Linked DNA regions of Homo sapiens: all the other regions are linked to region 2. Evidence: promoter capture Hi-C in 16 types of primary human blood cells and fetal thymus (Javierre and others, 2016). All regions are on one chromosome and are shown on one strand. Each heading gives the region's core, a stretch centred on a gene start or on the middle of the fragment in contact. The rest is flanking DNA. Distances are from core to core; before and after follow the strand shown.

What was found. The method cuts DNA at HindIII sites, captures the fragments that hold promoters and counts their contacts. A CHiCAGO score of 5 or more calls a contact.
Region 1: a contact is called between a fragment that was not itself captured here and the fragment with the promoter of ASB13 in region 2, in 1 of 17 cell types (endothelial precursors). The highest score is 5.1, in endothelial precursors.
Region 3: a contact is called between a fragment that was not itself captured here and the fragment with the promoter of ASB13 in region 2, in 4 of 17 cell types (M1 macrophages, M0 macrophages, erythroblasts and 1 more). The highest score is 8.3, in M1 macrophages.

The regions. Positions count from the first base shown.
Region 1 is chr10:4,832,966-4,835,665 of GRCh38, forward strand. AKR1E2 (aldo-keto reductase family 1 member E2) reads left to right here. Exons shown (of 10, transcript NM_001040177.3): 3 at 385-501. Among named protein-coding and RNA genes, the nearest start is that of AKR1E2, 8.1 kb to the left of the region's middle. The HindIII fragment of the contact is 4,627 bases long and covers 1-2,700 here.
Region 2 is chr10:5,665,145-5,667,844 of GRCh38, forward strand. It overlaps ASB13 (ankyrin repeat and SOCS box containing 13), which reads right to left and starts at 1,451. Exons shown (of 6, transcript NM_024701.4): 1 at 1,365-1,451. The coding sequence starts at 1,407. RefSeq lists silencers at 1,035-1,084, 1,385-1,454. The HindIII fragment of the contact is 2,178 bases long and covers 376-2,553 here.
Region 3 is chr10:4,811,597-4,814,296 of GRCh38, forward strand. No RefSeq gene overlaps it. Among named protein-coding and RNA genes, the nearest start is that of AKR1E2, 13 kb to the right of the region's middle. The HindIII fragment of the contact is 3,258 bases long and covers 1-2,700 here.

The DNA of each region.
Region 1 (2,700 bases), core at 1-2,500, 830 kb before region 2:
CGGAGTCTGTGTAAGTGAGAAACACAAGATAGAGATTCTTCTGATTTTTCGTCATATCTTTTCTGCCTGCAGGAATTTCATTTTCGTTTTTGTTTTTGGTCCCAATGAATCCAAATAACCATCAAATATCTCTTGGATTCCTGAGCTTCCCTTGAGGAGGAGTCAGGCAGAAGGATCCCAGCTTTGGAGCCTCTCCCTGCAGGTGTCCTGGAACTCTTCTGAGGATAATGTCCCTGTCCTCCCATCAGAACTTGCCGTGTTGTATTTGTGGTCATCTCATCTTGGCTATTTTGGGTTCAAGACAGTAGCTTTGTGGGGCTACAGAATGGGTGCCATGCTGGCTCTGGGTGGGCACGTGTGACGCTGGTCCCCTCTCCTTTGTAGCTGTGGTGCACCTGCCATAAGAAGTCCTTGGTGGAAACAGCATGCAGAAAGAGTCTCAAGGCCTTGAAGCTGAACTATTTGGACCTCTACCTCATACACTGGCCCATGGGTTTCAAGGTACCGTTCAGTAGGTAGTTCGTTCTGCAGTTTGCAGGACCTTCCTCCCCGTGCTCACACCCTGTCTTGCGGTGGGGAGAGCATGGACCAGCATTCAGGGCAGGGGTTCCCAGGCTGCATCTGCCACATGCTAGCTGCGGCATTTGGGCAGTCCTCTTGATATCTCTGGGCCTCAGTTAAGGAGAGGCTTGGCTTGACCTCTGAGGCCCCCACAGGTCTGTCTTTCAAGCCAGTCGCTTTTTTTCCAAGCCAAGAGAGCAGTAGATTTTTTTCCCTTAGGTTTTTAGGTGAAAGCAGTGATCAGATGAGGAAATACTGCTGCTCAGAGAAAGTTCCCAGTGAATTCCTAGGCCTTGTCTCTTCTTGCAGGTTCTGTTCTCTTTGGGGAGTAAATGCTGTTTTGCAATATGGGAGATATTTGCTTGTTCACCTGCAGCAGGGTCCAGTGGGTTGTGCTGGTAGTTGACTTTTCCACTTGGTTTTATTCTCTTAATTGCTTCACAGTGTGTCTGGAGCATGCATCTGAGCCATGGCTCTGTCACTAAGCTACCCCAGTCTGGCCGTGCAACTTCCCTACTCTAGGCAACCTGCTTCTGCCTCACACGGGTCCTGGCCAGGATGTCCCTGCATATTTGCCCTGGGCTGTGATGACAGCCTGCCTGGGCAAGGGCCTGATCACACAGTTGACACCTGTGAAATACAGAAGCCCTTGCAGGGATGTTCTTCCTACAATGGAATGGGTGACTGCTGCTCAGCAGTCTTCTACATACCAACCTGTGAGAAGGTCCCTTTATGTGTGCCACACTGTTGGTTACTGTTTTAGAGTAAAATAACAAAAAACACTTCATTCCTAGCACAGCTTTACTTAACTAAGGCTTTGTATCTAGTTTCCATAAACGATGTGGGCAGCTGTCCGTTAGTGACACTGACTAAGAGGGGAAGATACCCAGAGGGCAAAACCAGAGTGATGTCTGTGCCTTGAAATTCATTGCATGCAGAAAATCATAATTAAAACAATGGCTACAGCTGTATTACACTCATTGCCAGCCAGCATTGTTGTAATTATGTACCCAGAACTATGTTAGGTACTTTACACATATTAACTCATTTAATTCTCATGACAGTTCTACAAAGTTGACACTATTAACATCCCTCTTGGAGAGATGATGAAACTAAGATACAGAAAGTTTAAGGTTTAAGTTAGATTATTGGAGCCCAGAAGCATATGCTCAGGTCAGACATTTGTTACACTTTCCTTGCCCTCATCCTTTAGCAGATTCCTGTCTTTGGATTTCTGGGTCGTAGAAAAGGAAAAGGTCTCAGATCATCCAACAAATTACAGAAGAGAATAATGCAGCATCGTCAGCATGTCTTCTGGCCAGTAGGAACTGCTAGGCCTTGTGTGATGCTGGACAATTAGATCAGGGTCCGAGTATGAGTCCCGGGCTGCAATTTTGTGGAGGCTTGGATAAATGGCAACATGGGATGTGGCTTTAAAGTGAGACTGTTAGTTACTTCAGCTCATCATGGAAAATGCCTCTTTCATGTGTATCAGGCTGGAACATGTGACATTCTTCCACTGTTGTTTAGGAGTGTGATTAGGTGTCATTAAATAAACATGCCTATGCCATTCACCCTTAACATGCTACGTGGGAGTACATGAGGGAGGTAGCTGGATTGCACGTCAGTGCTTCTCTGAAAGATGACTTTAGGTTCTTGCCCTTTCAAGATGTATCTCTCTGCCCTCTACCTCCTGTGTACCTTTGTATTCTCACTTCCTTACCTGTCATCATGATGGGGATTCTAAGAAAGAAGACAAGACCCTAACAGTGGAGTTAGGAGAGGGTTGATTGGGCTCTATAAGACATGAAGAAAATGCACTCCTCACCCATTCTTTACCCGAAATTAGTAAACTATTTTCTGGAGGCAATGGGAGAGGACAACCTTGCATCAGTAAGGATACAGGGTCTTCCTTTCCCATCTTGTGAGAGATGAACAGTGAACATCAGGCTGGCAGAGGCTTTGCCAGCCATCCAGTCCACCAGCCATTCATCTTTTCTTAGAAAGGTGAAGACTGGGCCTGGTCACATGGCCAGGCTGGGGTTGCTTAGTGACAGGGCTGTGGCTTGGATGCAGGTCTCCTGACACATGGTTTTTTTTGTTTTGTTTTGTTTTGTTTTCACACATCTCAACTCTCCT
Region 2 (2,700 bases), core at 201-2,700:
CTGCGCAACAGCCCAAAACCTAAATGTTTTGGTCGCGGTACACCACACATCCAGAATTTGAGGTCAGAATGTTAAAATTGTCTAAAGCTCCTACGGTTCGCCTCTGGTGCTGCTGGAATGGCAGTATTGTTTTGGATCCAACACATTCAGCTTATTCATTACACTGGGAATAAAAAACATCAGCAGAACTTATTTGGGGAGAAATATATTAAATAAAAAATGACAATGTCAAAAATACCAGTGAACCTCAAAAGTTGCGGATTCATTAGTTTAAAATGTGCCTTTCTTCTACAGATGCATTCCATAACAAACGATGCAGAAGACATGCTCAGAAGTGATGCCATGAACAGAAATATTAAAATATGTGTTTAAATAAGCTTCTGCCGTTAGCTATTCACTGCTTACTCAATTAAGCTAATCAAATGCAGATCACAGTGTCAGGGTCAAAGTCTTGTGCTTGCCTGGACTGGAATGCCAAGTAAAAACACATGCTTATTAGATACCTTTGATCATGTCAAAGGTGGTTATTTTGCAAAGTCAATTAAAATATCTTTGCCTTGCTATGACTGCAACTTCCTCTTCAGCTAAATTTACCCTTAAGACTTTTCCCTCTTAGGTGCACTACTGTTTTTACCAGGATGAATATGCTTTAGATTTTTTTTTTCTTTTTAGGCTTTCATAGTGCTTCCGTCGCTCATTTCAGTGACCATATTATTGCTTCATAGGCAGCAAAAAAATTTGCTTCCCCAAAGAGTGTCCTTCCCTCAAATCCATTTCATTCTTGGGCTGCTCGGATTTTGGTAAAGTAGGCTGCGAACTGGGATGGCACTTTTCGGAGTGTGCCGGGGTGCCCCAAGGCCACCTTCACTGGAGCGGAGTCGGGGTCACGCGGACGCCTCTGCAGGATGCTCGGACACTGCGCCACGGCCTCACCCGCGCCAGTGGAGGGGGGTTTAGCTCTTACCGTGGGCTCGCGCCTGGCTTCCCCGAGAGGGAGCACCGTGGGCGTTTCCCAGGCTCTCCCCCGCCACTGGGCAACGGCCCCGCACGCGTCCCGCACCTTCCCCAGGGCGCGCGGCGCTCGGTGGGTTTGCGGTTGCGAAACCCCACACCTGGCGAGCCGCACGGACTGCAACCCCGCAGTGCGCTGGCCTGGGACAAGGCACCAGACATGAGAGCCCGTCTGGGATGCGCGGCACCACTGGGACCCTGCTTTCACCGCGGCCCACCCCGCCAAACGCCCCCGCCCACGGAGCCAGCGCGGGGCGCGCCACCACCTCCCCGGCGCAGGCCATCGGATACGCGGCCGGCCTCAGGAGCCGGCGCCGCTGCCTCGCTCTGACCTCCGCGGCGCCCGCACGTACCCACGTCGCCCAGGAAGCAGCCGTCCGCCGCCCGGGGCTCCATGCGGCTCACCGGCGGCCGCGCGGCGACTCTGGGCGCCGGGACCTGGGCCGGGCCGCGCGGGGCCGCTGGGCGGGGCCAGTCTGCGCTGGGCCGCGCGTCGTCCCGAGGCGACCGAGCCGGGAGTTGTAGTTCCCGCCGCCTTGGCGAGGTTCCCGGAGGCGCTGTCCCTGGGTCCGGACTCCGCTGTCGCTGCCCACCCCGCTTCGCCCGTCGCGCCGAGGAGTGTGTGTGCTTGCATCTGCAAACCGTGCGTCCCGTGCACAGAATACGTCCGGTGCAAAACGTGTCCTGTGCACTTGTCCTATGTAAACGTGTGTGTCCGTGTGCAAAACATGCATCCTGTGCATATGTCCTGTGCAAAACATGCGTCCGTGTGTAAACTTGTATCCATTGTAAGCATGCTTCCCTGTGTCCCTTTGCAAAGCATGGATATGTGTTTCCATGTGCAAAACATGTGTCCTGTACAAAACATGCATCCTGTGCATGTGTCCTGTGCAAGCGTGTCCTGTGCAAGCGTGTGCAAAACATGTGTCCATGTATAAACATGTATGTATTGCAAATGTGTCCTGTGCAAGCATGTGTCTGTGTCCACGTGCAAAGCATGCGTCTAGCTTCCAGAGTTCACTTGCATTGTACAGATGCTGATGATGCTCCAGAGTACTCGAGTTCCCCCATGCTTTAACTTTCAAGAACCGCTTCCCACCAGAGCCGGTGTTCATAATCACTGTTTCTTTGATCTTTCAAGATAATAATTTCAAATCGTTCAAATCAATTTCTTAATGCCTTTTCTTTACGGGTGGTTTTTAATCCAATGTTCCCCTAAGCTGCTTAGCAAATGGAAGCTGGGGCACAACCTGGCAGAAATGAAAAACCTGTTTCCTGTTTCCGGAATAATACCCAGTCAACAATTGAGTAAGGGATTTTTATTTTATTTATTTATTTTTGCAAAGCAGCTTCCCAAGTTTAGAAGGTTTAACCTTGTGAAAGTTCACTGTAGCCCTGTCAGGAGATTCGTCACTCACCTGACCTGTACTGAACCTCCATGCAGAAGTTAGTTTGGGCTCAAAAGTAAAAGTATCAGGAATCATCCAGTCTGGAAATAGGTGAGGCCTGGCAGAGCAGCCAGTTTGATCTCTCACACTACAAAGCTTCTGGGATGACCCAGGTCTCCATCTGCAGTCCAGACCGAAGGCACTATACCTAGGGGACATTGAACCATATCTTTTGGAAAGCAGAGCCCCTGGAAATGTGGAGCCCCAGGCCTGGGAATGGAATTTCAAGCCATTTGCACTG
Region 3 (2,700 bases), core at 107-2,606, 850 kb before region 2:
TCATACACAGACATGCACAGAAATACAGACACACACATACACACACACACCAACACATGCACAGACACACAGACACCCTCAGACACACAGAGACACACACAAACACACACAAACTCATGGACACACACACAATGACACAGATGCACAGACTCATTCCAAATCTTTCCTCTTGCCTTGCACTTTTATGATTAGTGAATTAAATCATAACCCACACCATTACCCAAGCCAGGAACCAGTGAATATTCCTGGCTGTTACTCCTCTCTTGAGCCCCACAGTTGCTGCAAGGAGTTGTGTCCTGCTGATGGCTCCCCTTCCACATGTCTCACCACCTTCTCCTCTCCTGCACACTCTGAGATTGTTTAGTGCAGGCCTGTACAATTGCACACAGGTGCTGCCTGTCACCCCAACAGCAGGCTTGTTCTCTCCATCTGCACCCAGAGAGAGGCTTTGCAGCTGGGGGTGCGAATGTGGCAGAATTTCCATCCTTTCCAACACACATTCATTTTATGGCCCAGAATGTGTTCTCTTCTCTCTTGGTGAATGTCCCAAATGCCTGTGAGCAGAATGTGTATTTGCTTCAATTGGGTGTGGTCACTAATGTCCCGGGCAGGGTAGAGTTGTCCAGCTCTTCTGTCTTTCCACAGATTGTCTAGGCACTGATTCTATCCATTACTGTGTTGAAATCTCTAGCTAGAATTGCAGACTTATTTCCCCTTTTCAGTTCTATCAGCTTTTGATTCCTGTATTTTGAAACTCCAATATGAAGCCCACACTCATTTAGGATTAATATGGAAGCCAGCCTTTAAATAAGAATTTTATCTTAAAATTAATATCACTCTGTCATCTTAAGAAGATGTGAGGCCTGTGAGAGCAGGTACTGTGTATTTTGTGTCTGTATTCTTTCTGTTTCACACTGCAACCATAATCGATGATGAATAAATAATGTTCCCTCTTGAAGATCTGGTCCCTGTCTCCAGGGCAGTGCTATGTAAAAAAAAAAGAGCAAATTCCTGCCTTCTAAACACTCCTCCACACCAACAAACACACTGTGCTAGGAAAGCAGCAGTGATGAAGGTGCTGGGCCTCCGGTGGAAAGGTAACACACATTTCCCATCCTCGGGAGCTTGCAGCACCGGCAGGCGGGCCGTTACACAGATAACACAGTATGCTTCTATGCCAGGGTGGACCCAGGAGTCCGTCCTCCCTGTCACTTACGAGACTGGAGTCCTGGAAAAGTTACTGAACTTCTCTGTGCCTTGGTTTATCCATCATGAAAGTCGGGTTAAAAAGAATACCCCACCCCTAGGGTGGAAGTGGGACTTGCTTGAATTGAAACAGTTGGTTTTTAAGTATTTTGCATAGCTGTTATTATTAAATTAACATCAAAAAAGTTGCCTGGTTATTTTAATATGGTCTTCACATAGGCAGTACAGCCGGCCAGATTTAGCATTTGCATTTATAACTGAGTCTCTCTTCTGCCTCCGTGAGACTTCCCAGGAGTTGCTTTGATGCTGCAGGGAGTCACACATCTCCAGATGCATCACTGGTGACTCAGCAAGCACCTGACCTGGTCCGTTACACATGGGGCTTATGTGCTTAACTCCTATGCGATGATGATTCTTCTCTAGTTCTTGGGGGTCGTTCCCTTTCTCCTACTGTACTGGCTGTTTAAAGTCAGCACTGTATGAGTTGCATACATAAGCCAAATGTCATTGACTTCTTCTTTTTTTTTTTTTTTTTGACAGTCTTACTCTGTTGCCCAGGCTGGAGTGCAGTGGTGTCATCTCGGTTCATTGTAACCTCTGCCTCCTGGGTTCAAGCAATTCTCGTGCTTCAGTCTCCAGAGTAGCTGGGATTACAGGCATGAGCCAACGTGCCCAGCTAATTTTTTTTTTTTTGTATTTTTAGTAGAGACAGGATTTTGCCACGTTGGCCAGGCTGGTCTCAAACTCCTGGTCTCAAGTGATCAACCCACCTTGGCCTCTCAAAGTGCTGGCATTACAGGCATGAGCCCTTGAGCCCAGCATAGATGTCATTGAAATTCAAGGGGGAAATCATTTGGAATGATCACAGCGACTGGTCCAGAGATGACTAACAGCTTAAAATGACCCCACCTGAAACAGCGGCGATCAGTGGAATGTCCAAGTATATATATATATATTTTTTTAATGAAGCTCTTTTGGACCAGAAACCCTAAGAATGTTTAGTCTGGAGTTCCATAATTATAAAAAAAATCTTCTGAAGTTAATCACCGTTTTTATCTGAAACCATACTCTAACTCAGTAACTCTTTCTCAGGGTTTACTTTCTCTTGAGCCACAAGCATCCATTTGTCCCCTACCAAAGGGACTAGACTTTCATGATGGATAAAAGGACACTAGTGCCAGGTAGCTTCTGCTTCTAAATTTTGGTTTAAAAAATGAAACATCTCCTTTTAGATATTCTAAAAAGTCATCTCCCCTAAAATCATGAAGCCTGGTTTATAAACTTTATAGAAGAAACTAGGTCTTTGAGGCTAACACATATTAGTGTATTAAAAAATACGGTAAACCAGCCGGGCACAGTGGCTCACGCCTGAAATCCCAGCACTTTGGGAGGCCAAGGCAGGTGGATCACTTGAGGTCAGGAGTTTGAGACAAGGCTGACCAACATGGTGAAACCCCGTCTCTACTAAAAATACAAAAATTAGCCAGGCTTGGT